Regions from separate parts of the Homo sapiens genome. Here all the other regions are linked to region 1. The links are contacts of gene promoters, found by promoter capture Hi-C in blood cells and fetal thymus (Javierre and others, 2016). All regions are on one chromosome and are shown on one strand. Each heading gives the region's core, a stretch centred on a gene start or on the middle of the fragment in contact. The rest is flanking DNA. Distances are from core to core; before and after follow the strand shown.

The links. The method cuts DNA at HindIII sites, captures the fragments that hold promoters and counts their contacts. A CHiCAGO score of 5 or more calls a contact.
Region 2: a fragment that was not itself captured here is called in contact with the fragment with the promoter of GAPT in region 1 in 9 of 17 cell types (M2 macrophages, M1 macrophages, M0 macrophages and 6 more); the score reaches 10.3 in M2 macrophages.
Region 3: a fragment that was not itself captured here is called in contact with the fragment with the promoter of GAPT in region 1 in 1 of 17 cell types (M2 macrophages); the score reaches 7.0 in M2 macrophages.
Region 4: a fragment that was not itself captured here is called in contact with the fragment with the promoter of GAPT in region 1 in 6 of 17 cell types (M1 macrophages, M2 macrophages, monocytes and 3 more); the score reaches 7.9 in M1 macrophages.

The regions. Positions count from the first base shown.
Region 1 is chr5:58,489,612-58,493,206 of GRCh38, forward strand. GAPT (GRB2 binding adaptor protein, transmembrane) reads left to right here and starts at 1,824. Exons shown (of 3, transcript NM_001304431.2): 1 at 1,824-1,930. The HindIII fragment of the contact is 6,945 bases long and covers 1-3,595 here.
Region 2 is chr5:58,863,612-58,867,206 of GRCh38, forward strand. No RefSeq gene overlaps it. Among named protein-coding and RNA genes, the nearest start is that of PDE4D-AS1, 170 kb to the right of the region's middle. The HindIII fragment of the contact is 3,602 bases long and covers 84-3,595 here.
Region 3 is chr5:58,791,985-58,795,579 of GRCh38, forward strand. All of the region lies in intron 3 of RAB3C (RAB3C, member RAS oncogene family), which reads left to right. Among named protein-coding and RNA genes, the nearest start is that of RAB3C, 210 kb to the left of the region's middle. The HindIII fragment of the contact is 1,124 bases long and covers 1,259-2,382 here.
Region 4 is chr5:58,771,946-58,775,540 of GRCh38, forward strand. All of the region lies in intron 3 of RAB3C (RAB3C, member RAS oncogene family), which reads left to right. Among named protein-coding and RNA genes, the nearest start is that of RAB3C, 190 kb to the left of the region's middle. The HindIII fragment of the contact is 4,726 bases long and covers 1-3,595 here.

The sequences.
Region 1 (3,595 bases), core at 574-3,073:
TAATTCTATTTTGAATATATACAGCATTTCTTTTATAAACTTGAAGAATAATTATATCCATTACATCAAAAAAATTCTATTTGAGGAAAGTGCCAGTCATTTTCCCTCCATTTTATTTTCCGTTAGAAAAACTAAAGTAATAAGGGGTTAAGCAACTTTTTTAACTTCAAAGGGCAAAAGCTGAATGAGCACCAGTTGTCCTGCCTTCTAGAGAAAATCATAATTTTATACAAACATTGTATAAATTGCCTTTCTTACAGATGTATGCCTAGGCAGGTGAGTGTGTATATTATTTGGAGGGGTGGCTAATACTGAAGTTAAATATAGTGGTGAGAATGTGGAGCACATCAAGTTCATAGCTTCACAACTTCATAACCTCCTTCACTGTAAGATTTTTGTCCAGGACACCCCTATTCTGCCTTAACACCTTATTCTATGAGGCTTAGCTCAGGTCTTGCCTTCCCTGACCACCCTCTGAGCTGGATGCCTCTTTCCTTTACCTCCACTGTCCCTGTCCATAATCCTGTCTTTCTTAGGCATTATCACTTTGATCTGAAATGTTCTGTGGGCGCAGCAGCCTCTCTACTTGGCTTTAAGTGCTGCAGGGAGCTTATTCACTCTTGCATCCTCATCTCTTAGCACAATGCCTGGCATAATGTCAGTGCTCAGCAAGTGTTAATAATACGTCCTGTCCTTCCAATGTCCAGTAGTTATTTCAGTAACTAAATCCTCTTTTTTAAAACCACCTTATGCAAAGTTAATCCTCTGTGGTTCAAAAAGTTCCAAGACAACTTAAAAGACAAATTTTCCATTACTTTGTCATCTCATCTGTCGAATTCATCTGTAATTTGTCTAATTCAGCATCTCCCACTGTGTGTGTTCCCATGAGTTGGACTCCAAGAGATGCTCTTGGTAAGCGTATCTATGTGGGAAACATGTTACTCAATCTAGCAAGGCAGCCAGTGCAGTGGTTTAGCACACAGGTGCTGGGGGCAAACTGCAGGCTCTGTCGGGCAAGTGATCATTCTGTGTGCTTCTGTTTCCTCTTCTGTAAAATAGGACTAATAACAGTTTTTCTCCCTCACAGGGTTGTTGCCAAGATTTGCTGAGTATTACACAAAAGGTTTGGAGTACTTAGTGCTAGGAACATACTGACTACTATTATTAAGCAAAGTTAAACAATTTCTTTTTCTTATTTGGTTTTATTTTGTTTGCTGGCTGTAAGACTGCTGAGAGCCTTTAGCATGCTGATGTACCCATGAATCTCCAGGGAAGCAGTATTCCCCACATTTACTTGATGGAAGAGCTGCTAGCATATCTCAGGGGTAATGGGCCTCAAAACATACCTTAGGAAATTCCTATTTATAAATTTAAAAGAACGTTAACATTTTCCAAACCCAAATTGGGACACTGATTTGACCTGTATGGCTATAACTTGGGAGCATTGGTACATAATATTAATATTTGAAGAGAGGACTGGTCTAGCAACACAAGTAAATAATAATAATAATAATAAAAGCCCAAGACCTATGTGTTACTACAATTAAAATATTTCTTTTTTTAAAAAATCAAAGTACAAGTGAAGTGACTTTTATTGATATTAAAGTGGGAACTGCAAATATGGCCCAAATAAAAAACCATGTAGGCTTTACGTATTATTTTCTGACACAGTTAAAAAACTATTACTTGACAAAGATGAAGGGCCAGACTTCCTTATTCAAAACCTCACGCCATTTATCTTAATTCTGCTGCATCTGATACTGACTTCCTCTAGAGCCAGGAAACTTTGCAAGTATTAAATAGCGTGAACGAAGGAGGGAAAGAAGGAAGTAACCCACCAAAGTGAAAAAGAGGAACAAGTTCTAACCCAATGCAGGTTTAAAACATAACCAAAAGAACAAAAGAGAGAGCTTGACACACCAATCTTGAGGTAAGTAAGAACCTGATTTAAGGTATTTGGATGATTAAACACTATAAGAAACAAGTTTGTCTTTAATTAATCAATGATTTTTATCTTACTACAGTTTTTAGAAAAAAATGCCTTACGTAGCTGTAAGGGGGAAACCCAATTTACAAACTGAGAGTGATGTTAATGTTTCTTTACAATATGATTATGCTTTGCTGTTACCTTGTTTCCAAACAGCAGGGCATTCTCTTACTTGAAAATTCCTGAAGTTTCTCAACAATTTGCGATTTTAAGAAAAATGTCAAATTGTTAGGTAACCTGTTGGAACTGCTTTCCAAAATGAAAACAGAGTCTTCTTTCAAACTGGTCAAAGTGAACATTATTTAAGTGTTAAACTATATTTGAATGGTTATTGTTTAAAATATGTTTTTCATTATAGTAGGTCTTTGTTCATGTCTCACAGGTTTTTTCCTCTAATGTTATTTCGAAGAAAATGATGCATTTCTTTTTCTGTAAAAAGTCTTCTTGTCTTTATCTTGGTAAATATCTCTTAGACAAACAATTTTAATATTTTGGATGTACCAGAATTTCTACTCTACATAGAATAACATAGATGGTAAAAATGCCTTTTCTTCTTAAAAATTAAGAGAGTAATTTATTGCCTTATCCTCAGCTACAGAAGTGACAATAGTTAGCCTTCCTCAACCCTCACCGTGACTTCTGTTGCAGGCCTAGTATCTTTCAAAAAGTTGATTAATTTCAATCAATACTTAAAGTGTATTTTGTAAATTTATTTCAAATATTCTGGCAAATAACTTCTTAAATCATTAACCATGTATACCATAAAATATCTTGCAGATAATTGGTGCTCATCTGTTTCAGACAGGAAATGAGGTCCTAATGATTAAAGTCATTTGGCTAAACTTTTGTCCTTGAACACAAGCACGGCTGGCCTTATAAAGGAGGGACCCTGCAGATTGTAAATCTTATGTGGCGGACCATACAGTTCTCAACCTCAATATTACTCCCAAAAATTCCAAGGAGATTAAAATGTTTCTGCATCTGGGGTGCTTGTCCCTGTATTTTTATCAAAAAATTGTATAAATTAGCTGCACATCTTATTTAATTTTCTTTTATGAAATGTCAAATTAAATATTTGCATATTAATATATTCTAACCTTGGACAAATTTATGAACGTTCATTACCATTAAACTTTTCATGAAAACTCACTGAAAGCAGAGCACCACTTTGTGAATTTCTATTTTTCTTCTCATTGTTACTATTATTATCCCATAAGGAGATTACTTCATTCATTAACAAATGTCTAATAGATTAGTCATTCTGTGTCTAATGCTGGTGTTGGTAATACAAAGGTAAATAATATATGATTTCCAACCTTCGAGAACCTCAGAGCTAATCAAGCTATACAAATTTTCTGACTGATGCACTTAGTAGCATGTTACAGATATTTGGATAAATAATATTTTGGGGAAATTTTTACCTGAATTCTCATTCAGTCACATTTTGGTTGTAAGGAAGTTACTTAACTTCTTTAAGCCTCTCTTCTTATCTATAAAATGGTGATATGAATAGTACCCACTACATATAGCAGCTATAGGATTAAATGAGATAATCCCTGTAACAGTTTTTAAAAGCTGAAACTCTTAACTAAACATTATTGATGATAA
Region 2 (3,595 bases), core at 635-3,134, 370 kb after region 1:
GACATATAACCACAGGCTTAGCAAGAAAAAAGACGGCTTTCATAAAAGACGGTCTGTTGACACTTGAGCTAAGAGGGAAGTCAAGCTTTGCAATGGAAGCTGGGAGGGGAGGGAGAGAGTATTTTTTACTGATAAGAGATTTGAGAGTATAAGCAAGAAGTGAAAAGTTGGTTTCTTAGAAGGGGGTCTTAGAAATTATTAGATTCTTGGGTGCCATGAATTCAAATCCTAGAGCAATACGTTAGGGTTTTCACAAAAATACTCTGAAGATTTTGTTTGCATATTATCAAAAACCGAATGCAACCTGAAGAAGACACTCACAAAATCTCTCTTCTTCTCTTGTTCTAGTTTAAAATACAATTACTCTTAAGGCATACTATACATTTGCTGGCACTTTCCTTAACAGTCACTCTCCTAACATTATTACAACTCTGTAAAAGATATTTTAATGTTTTTTTTTATGTGTCTGCTCTTAAACAGTAAGGGTCTAGAAGGTTGTTTTTGTTGTTGCTGTTTTGTTTTGTTTAGTTTTTTTGTATTGTCAGTAGAAAAGACAAAAGATTCTTCTGAGGGCAGTGTGCCATAGAAGAATATAATAACAATTCTTTGGGATTTATTATTTGTTTTCTCCATTTGATCTCTAGGCCAGACTCATAAATATAATGGTTTTAGCCAGAAACAACCTATCCTTGGATTTAAAATGTAAATTATTCAGTATTAAGAACACCCTAAATTCAACCCATGATCTCATCATTAGAACCAAGTACAGTTTATAGAGTAACTGGCTAAATAAAAACACAAGACAGGCAGGGCATCATGGCTCATGCCTGTAATCCCACCACTTTGGGAGGCTGATGCAGACGGAACACAAGGTCAGAAGATTGAGACCATCCTGGCCAACATGGTGAAACCCCATCTCCATTAAAAACACAAAAATTAGCTGGGCATGGTGGCACATGCCTGTAGTCCCAGCTACTCAGGAGGCTGAGGCAGGAGAATCGCTTGAACCCAGGAGGCAGAGGTTGCAGTGAGCTGAGATCACACCACTGCATTCCAGCCTGGCGAAAGAGCAAGACTCTGTCTCAAAAAAATAAAAATAAAAACAAAAACAAAAAACCACGAGACACAATTATATGCTACGCATAAGAGACTTGCGTCACCTTTAAAGATGCAAATAGATTGAAACTGACATGATACAAAAAAAAAAATTCCCTGCAAACGGAAATCGAAATAAAGTGGAGGTAGCTTTACTTACATCAGATAGAATAGACATTATATCAAAAACTAAAACAAGATAAAGTCATTATATAATGATGAGAAGAGCAATCAATCAAGATGATGTAACAATTGTAACTAGATATGCACTCAATATCAGAGCATCTAAATATGTAAAACAAATATTAATAAATTTCAAGAGAGAAATATGTTGCAATACAATAATAGTAAAGGACTTCAACACCCTATTTTCAACAGTGGACAGATTATCCAGACAGTAAGTCAATAAGGAAATACTGGACTTAAACTATACTTTAGATGAAATGGACCTAACAGACATATATAGAACATCTCATCCAATAGCAGTAGAATACACATTCTTTTTAAGCACACAGGAAAGATTCCCCAGAATGGATCATATTTTGGGCGATAAAACAAGTGTTAAAAATTTTAAGAAAATTAAAATCATATCAAGTATCTTTTCCAACCACAGTGGTATGAATTAGAAAGCAATAAAAGAAATAATGGAAACTTCATGAATTTGTGGAAATTAAACATGTTCCTGAACAACTAATTGTTCAAAGAAGAAATGAAAGAGAAACTTAAAAATATCTTAAGAAAAACAAAAATGGAAAAACATGATACTAAAACTCATGGGATGCAGTAAAAGCAGTTCTGAGAGAAAAGTTGATGGTAATAATTGCCTACATCAAACAAGAAGATTCCAAACAACCTAATGTTATACCTCAAAGAACTAGAAGAAGAAGAAAAAAAGAAGAAAAAAAGCCCACAATTAGTAGAAGGAATGAAATAATAAAGATCAGAACAGAAATAAATGAAATAGAAATAAAAACAACAGAAAATATGAACGAAATAATAGTTGTTTTTTAAAAAATAAAATTGACAAATCATTAGCTTGACTGAAAAAAAAAAGAGAGAGGCCTCAAATAAATAAAATCAGAAATGAAAGAGGAGACAATACAACTGATACCATGGAAAAAAAATGATGGACAAATTCAGCTCCTTATGATTGTAGGAATGAGGTCCCTAGTTCCTTGCAGGCTGTCACCCAAGGACAGTCTTTGCTCCTGGAGTCTTGTCTATGCACCTTCTCATGCTTTTGATGAGCTCCAAGAGGCCTCCCTCCAGTCATCACCGTTATATCCCAGCACCAGCAACAGTATGTCAAATAACTTACAACCTTGGAACCTCGCTGACTCCCTCTTCTGCTGCATCCATTCTGCTTTCCTCTTCCTACTTCCTCTTCTGCTTTTAAAGGCTCGTATGATTACACTGGACCCACCTGGATAATCCAGAACAATCACCATAGTTTCAGATCCATAGTCTTAATCACAATTGCAAAATCCCTTTTGCCATGTAATGGGACATATCCACAGGTTCCAGGGATTAAAGAACATCTTTAATATGTGCCATTATTATGCCTACCACACACCTTTACACAATTCCCTCCCCTTCGTTGTGGAATGGATTTAGCAAATAGAATGCAGCAGAGACTATGAGATGTCCTTTGCAAGATTCGGTTATAAAAGACTGCAGCTTCCACTTTTGGACATTCTCATTCTTTCTTGACTTCTCATTCTGGGGAAGCCAGCTGCTATGTATTGAGGCAGACACACAGTGGAGAAAGCCATGGGATTCAGTTTGGAAGCAGATCTTCTTAAGCCTGGTAACAGCCAATGAATGAATTTGGAAGCAGATCTATCCTAAGTTGAACCTTGAGAAATCTGCTGGTCCAGCCAACAACTTAATTACATTCTTATAAGAGACTCTGAGCCTGAAATACCCAGCTAACCTACTCCTGGATTCTCAATCTACAGAATCTGTGAGATAATGTGTTTTGTTTTATTATATTCAGCGGTTATAATCTGGAATAATTCATTATGCTGCAATAGATAATGAATGCACCCAGTGACTCTCTGACTGATCTTTTCTAAAACTGGAGACACTTTATTTCTCATCATTGTATAAAGAAGTCTACAGCTAGAAGTTTCTAAGATCTATTATTGTGGACAATAGAAAAGCATTTGTTAATACAGAAACTGGATATATTTAGATGTAGAACAAGAAGTCTCTGTGTTCAAATAGCCATTGGATTGGCCCTTATAGCCTGCTTGGGGTGCAACATTTTCAAAATAAAGAGAAGGAAGGTAGAATCCAGGCAAAAGAAATCCACATTATTATGAACTTGGGACACATAAACTCTACATCCAAGGAAACTGATTTATATAAATTGGTAGAGAAAAAAACTGAAGATGCACTATGATGGAGTACAATAAGGATAATGTGTCACCTTTCCTTTTTTTAGTTAGAGCCACGTAACTGGAGTAGTATTTCCCAGAGTGTGGTCCACAGACCATTT
Region 3 (3,595 bases), core at 571-3,070, 300 kb after region 1:
CTGATAATAAAGTTGTTGTAAATGGCAAAGGAAATAATGCAAATGAAATAGCAAGTACTATACAAATAAGTGTGAGATGGTGTCATTGTACAGTTTTCAAAGTAATATCTTATATGAGGAAATTAGTTGATAATGGGAGGGTTTGTTTCTTTGCATGGCAAGCCATCTCCATTTTATCTTCATTAAATTCACCACCAGAGCTTATTATAATAATTTAGCATTATGGGTAAAATTGTGTTAGTGTTTACTTTGGAAATATATAAACCTGGTGGCTTCTATATCTGGAATACTTCCAGGAATTAAGGAAAAGGTGAAGGGAGCAGCTTCCAGGCACCTAACAATAACAGCCCTATGGCTATGGGGGCAAAACCTTTTCCTCATGCAGTAATGGGGATTACTCATAGGCTAGCAGAAATGGTCCAAACCAACCATCTGAAGAAGGAACCAAGTGCACGGAAAAAAGCAAGAAATTTTACAAAGGAAAGGGGAAAGTGGAAACAAAAGAGAGGAGAGCAACAGATGCAAATGCAAGGGACTAGTACAGTGCAGTGGAAATTAGAGCCAGAGGCGGAAGCTGTGAACCACACATGGAAACATTGATTTTGGTGAGGGAGGGGGGAGATGAAGGGGAGTGATAGTATACCTACTAGATTCGACTCCAGAGCAGAATGTTTCCCAACAACCCTTCCTATAGATGGCCAAGCTATTTTCGTTAATAATTGTGATGTGGAATGAATAATAATAGCCTGAAACAAACACAGTAAAAATCTTCTTTTACTGAACTTTGTGTGTGTGTGTGTATGTGTATATATAAAACCTTGTGTATATATACACACACACAAAGTTTAATAAAAGATTTATATATATATAATCATTATATATGTAATTAATTGTTAGTAATTGTTAGAATTTACACTAAGAAAAGATTTTTTGAGGGCAGGAGTATTTTATCATTGACATTGTTTTGATTCTCATGTTTGCTAGCACATGGCAATAATAGAAAAATATTTAGAGTGTTATATTATTGTTCTAAAATTCTGTATGTCCAATGCACATTCTTATTGCTTGTACCTGAGGGAGAACCCTGTCACAAATGGAGGGGAGTCAGCAGCCCAAACAGAAAAATATTTGGTTCACTCTGCAGAGAAGGGACACACAGCCTCAAACCTCTCAGTGGGCCCTAAGGGCTTTGCTGAACTGTACAGCCTGTGGATACAATACCAAAAGAGAAATTTCTTCAGAATTCCCTCAGAGGAAAAGCTTCTCTTATGTTTCCTACTTTAAGAATTCCTGGCCGGGCGCGGTGGCTCGTGCCTGTAATCCCAGCACTTTGGGGGGCCGAGGCAGGCAGATCACGAGGTCAAGAGATCGAGACTATCCTGGCCAACATGGTGAAACCCTGTCTCTACTAAAAATACAAAAATTAGCTGGGCGTGGTGGCACACGCCTGTAGTCCCAGCTACTCAGGAGGCTGAGGCAGGAGAATCGCTTGAATCCAGGAGGCGGAGGTTGCAGTGAGCCAAGATCGTGCCGCTGCACTCCACCTCAAAAAAAAAAAAAAAAAAATTCCTAAGTGTTACAGACTTCATTTTGCCACTTTTTTTTTTTTTGCTTTGGCAGAGTACAGAATAAGTAAATGTACACACACATATACACATGCACACATACATATAGTTTGTAGTCCCAGTGTGGGGAGCTTTTAAAAGTCTGATTTCTGAACCTTATCTCTGGAGAGACTCACTAAGTCTGGGATGAGGACCAAGAATCTACATTTTAAAAGCATCTGTGTATTTCTGATGGTCATCTAGGTGGAGGAATCATTGGTGATGAATTTGCATTTTTCTAGCTCTATGCTTGTAATATTCCACTTCAATTAAATATCTATGGTCCTGATTATACATTTCTATTGTGTGAGTTTATTGTCTATCTTCTTATTTTATCTTGGAGATCACCTTAATATAGAATTGGAATTTAATTGTTAGGAGAATAAAATCCTCTTTCTCCTTTCCTGAAACCATGATTTCTCCCAAGTATAAATGCAGAATGTGAAGCCTCCGGTTTGAGAGGTCATAAATCAGCAGCAAGTTTCTCAGCAGGGTGTATATTAAAATGGAAGGCCTTCTATTCTTACAGCAGGTCACTAAAGTTATACCAGCAAATGCAATGAAAATTCACAGTGCTTTTTACACCCTCATATATTACTAGATTCTCCCTTAGAAGTGTATAAAACTGTTTTCTCTACTTAAATAATGCCCCCCATTTTTTTCTTTTTCTTTTCTTTCCTTTTTTTTTTGTGGTTCTTCAGACAGAATTTACAATTTAAAAGAAAACAGAGGAAGAAAAGTAGAAAAAAAGCTGGCATGACACAAAACAAAACACAGAAGCTTGTGGGAACCATGATAACTTACTGATTTTTCTGGCTGCAAGATTGTATGAAACAAAAAATAGCAATATATAACACTTCCAGTTTCCCCCCGAAGCAGGCATGACCAAGCTCGTTGTGGTCCAGATTGTCTAACCAGTTATGCTTTAAAAAAAAAAAACATTCTTCTGTTGTCTGTGTCTTTACTAAACCTCAAATGCCAGTCGGTGTGAATATTCACCAATCTATTCAGTTTCATCATGTAAGAATCACTGTTTTTAATTATTTATTAAAAAAACATTTATTAAGTGTTAAGTATTATAGACAAAGGACTAAATGATGCTTTAATTCTCGTAACGTCTCTATGAAAGTGGTTTTCCCCCCATTTTACAGATGGAGAAAGTGAGGCGCAGAGGAGTTCAGTTACTTTCTCAAATGATTCAGCTAATGTATTTCTTGTATTTTGATGTATGGATGTATCACCACTGGGAACTTATTTAAAATGCTGATTACTCCTAGGGATTCCCCTTCAGTAGGTTCTGTGGAGCCCAGGAATCTGCATTGCTAACAAGCACCAGGTGAACCTGATGCAGATAGTTCATTTAGAAAAAGATTATTGATATGGTTTGGCTGTGTCCCCGCCCTAATCTCATCTTGAATCGTAGTTCCCATAACTCCCATGTGTTGTGGGAGACACCCGGTGGGAGGTATTTGAACCATGGGGGCGGGTTTTTCCCATGCTATTCTCAGGATAGTGAGTAAGTCTCCTGAGATCTGATGGTTTTGTAAAGGGGAGTTCCCCTACACATGCTCTCTTTGCCTGTCACCATGTAAGATGTGATTTTGCTCCTCCTTTGCCTTTTGCCATGATTGTGGGGCCTCCCCAGCCATGTGGAACTGTTAGTCAATTAAACCTCTTTCCTTTATAAATTACCCAGTTTCGGGTATGTCTTTATTAGCAGTATAAGAACGGACTAATATACTTATAGAATACTATGGGTTTCCCACTCTGAAAGACAGCTCAGAGTTCAGGACATGAAGGAAGTCCTCACCCTGTTCCATTTCCATTCTATCACCTGGCATTTGTCCCCTCAGAACTCAGGCCATAGGAAGCCACACTCCAGCCTACCCATCCTGGCCTGCTGTGTAACTTTCAACCAAAAGTTTTCTTAACTATAGTTGTGTAACTTAAAAAGTGGTTACTGAAACTGCATGTTGTACTTCATTCTGGGT
Region 4 (3,595 bases), core at 641-3,140, 280 kb after region 1:
GATAAGAGAAGGCTTGGTAAACTCAAAGTGTATAAAATGGAAATAGAAAAGAGCAACGTTGAAATACTACTGAGTAAAGCAGAAATATGCTAGGTGGTTGCACTGGTAACTCCCAATAAAAGCACACCTCTAGGTATCCATACACTTCTATAGTCCTCTCAAGCTGACTCTGGGCTTGGCTATATGAAATGCATGGGCTAATGCGACATGGATGTGAGCAGAGGCTTGATAAGTGCAGTCTTGAATGGCAGAACCAGGAGAATTGACTGTACTTGGTTAACAATAGGGAACTAGTGAAGGTTTTTCAGCAAGGGACTGACAGGACCAATGTAGTGCTTCAAGACTATGAACCTGATGATGGTATTAAAATAAAGTCACATGGGATGGGGTGTTTGGAGATCCTGGTAGGGTGAACATTTGTGAGATTATTGTTCTTTAAGTGAGTCTCTCCATTAGAATAGAAGGGCAGAAAATCAATACTGGAAATAGTCTGTGTGTTAAGAAAGGACTTCAGGGAAGAAAGACTAATGCACCACAGTGATGCAGCAGCTCTCTCAGACCACTATGGACAGAGGTGGACAGCCTTAGCCAAGTCCCTGGAGAATGTTCTCCAAGGTTGAATAAATCTTTTCATTGTCATGAGAACAAAGAAGACGAGAGAGAAGGCTCATCGTGCTTGTCTTTTGATTTTTATCTTATTTCTGGGCATCCCATGAAAGCACACTTCAACTTATTTCCTTGAATTCTAAATTTCTAACTATTCCAGATGACTGCATTTCAGCATAATAATCTAAATCTTTGCATTCTTCTAATTTTCAGCATTCATATGCCAAAAATCTTAAATTGCTTAAAGATTATATATCAGGTAAGGAAATTATAGGTCTATTGTATAGAGAATCATAAGAGTGGAGAAGTAAAATCTTTTTCAGTAACAAAGAAAAATCATGTTGCATTCACAGGACCATGAAGCCAAGGGTGAAAGTGTCAGGTTTTAGGTAGGAAGGAAGAACAACCCAAAAGAAGCAGGCATTTTATGCTTTTCATGCATCGTCTGACCAACCTGACCTAGAAGCCTACATAGATTCTCCCAGGAGAGCAATAGACACACACTATGTATCTGGGAAAGTAGTCATAAAGATTTCAGATAAAGTCCTAAGAGGGCTAGGCCAACAGTGGGATAAGCCAACCTAGCTCAGCTTAGTGGCATTTTGTAAACCAGTCACATGAAGAGATAAAGGCAAGTTATAAGCCTAGGGCCAGGGGACTAACCACTATAGATGTGGCTTAGAATGGAGTACATACTGCTCCTACTTAGTATTCATTGTTAAGGCAGCAGAGACTCATACACAGAAAGAGGTGCAAGGAAGAACCCCTATTAGTAAAAGCATGTTTCTGAGAACCCAAATAAGGGACTGTCCTAAATGAACTTGGAATAGCATTCAAGTCACTCCCCATCATAGGACTGCAACTACCTGTTTCAGAAGGAAAATAAGTAAGAATTCACCAAGGAGTGGGCCAGAAATGTCTAACGGATAGCAAAGAGTCAGCTTTCAAGGTGTGTTTGTGTGGAAAGTAGGTGGCTACTCCCCTTGAATAATTTGTGAGGAGTCAGAAGAGCTCTAATGAGTAAATACCAACATTTTGGTTATTCAGAGTTTGTGCAGCAGTTCACACTGGGTACCTTGATTGAGGCTGGTACTGATTCAAGAGCTCTGGGGGAAAGGAGGCACAGCTGTCAATCAGTGGCATTCCTCAAAATCAAGTGAACAGCATCAAGATGAAGACGCAGTGAACCATTAGGTTTAGGGGCTGATCAGTTGATCCCATCACTCCCTAGTCCCCCTACAACATCCTCTTCTAGCAATTCCCAGGACCAATTTATTCCAACCATCTGCTTTTTTTCTGCTTCTGCTCCCAAGTTGCAAATGCTGCTGGAGAAAATCGGATACCTCTGCCAGCTGGCACCAGGACAACCTCAGCTGGGCTCTCCATGCTGCTCAGCAGTCTTTTCACGTGTCCTAACTACCTTCCATTAACAGTGCCCAGAGCAGCTGTTCCAAACTCTACACTCTTCACATGCTTCCTGGAGCTCTCCTCCCTTTGCATTCTCAGCTACTGGCCTTGCTCTGACATCACTGAGAAAATAGAGGGCATCAACTCTGTACCCCTACTCCCTAGTGTAGCACCTGAGACATAGTATGTTGAAATGGATCAATGAATGAATAAATTAATTCACTCATGAATGTAACTGGTAAGCACCAGTTTCTCTTTCTCTCTTACCTGGTATCAGATCTATCCTTGCTTCCTGTACACATACCTGGGAGGGAGGGAGAATTCTCTGCCTTTCCAAGGCCAGTGCTTCCACCTAAGCTCTTGATTCTATTAATATCTGCTCCCCTCTCCTCTGGGATCATTTATATACCCTTTCTTCTGTACCTCTCTTTCCATCTTCTACCTTTTAGCCCACAAACATGCTTAAGTCTCTGTCTCTGTCTCCTACAACTAGTATGTCCTGAGCAACTTTTATGTGCCAGGCACTGTTTCTAGCACTACAGAGATATTAGTGGGGAAAAACATATAGAACATCTGCCCTTTAATGGAGGTGGGTGGATGCAGATAATAAGGTAATGAGGGATACAAATAAATGAATTTAAAATAGATGTTTATAAATTTCTTAGAAAAAATACAAACAGGGAATGGGGGCAGAGTCTACTAGGGAGGGAGAGGGAGTAGGGATGCTACTTTAAATAAAGCAGCTAGATATAGGTGACATTCAAGCCATGATATGAAGGAGGTAAAGAAGCCAAGTGAAGACTCTGCATTCAAAGCAGAGGAAACAGCCATGTGAACGTCCTGTGTCAGGGCAGAGTGTCCTTAGCACAAATCAAGAAGCAAAGGAGACTGTGTGGCAGGAGCTGAGCGAGAGGTGGAACTTTAGTAGGATACAGGTCAGGGGACCAGATCTTGAGGGCCTTGTGAAGCATCGTGACTAAGGACTTTGGCTTTTGCTCTGGGGAAAATGGGAAGCTGGTGGGAAGGTTTTGAGTAGAGGAGTGGCATGGTCCAATATATTTAAGAGGATCCCTCCAGCTTCTGTGTTATGAATTGAGTAGAGTGGGGTGGAGGAAGAAGTGGGAACCCTGGTTAGGAAGTGATTGCAATCATCTGAGAGAGAAGTGCTGTGCACGATTGCATCCTCATTTGCCACCACATTTGTCAAAAGGACTGTTTCACTCATCGCCTCCATACTTTCTGTCCTCATCTAGTCCCATCTGGTTCATGCCCCCAGTGCTCTTCTGAAAATACTCTTGGCTGAGATCACAAATGACCTAAGTACCAAATGTCAAACCCAGGGGCTTCTCTTCAGTATCTGAGGCTCCTTTATAAAACCTCAGGGCCAAAGCAAGCCCAACTGTGTCTTGACCTATAAAAGTAACACCACGTAAGAAGATCCCACCTGGCAGGTTTAATGAAATCATGACAGCCACAGAGACTTGAATTTCCCTTTCTAATTTCCTTCAAGCAGGGTTTGCAGACTGAAATCTGACAAAGGCTGACAGGTAATGGGCGTGAGTGAAGGTGGATGGAAATGGGA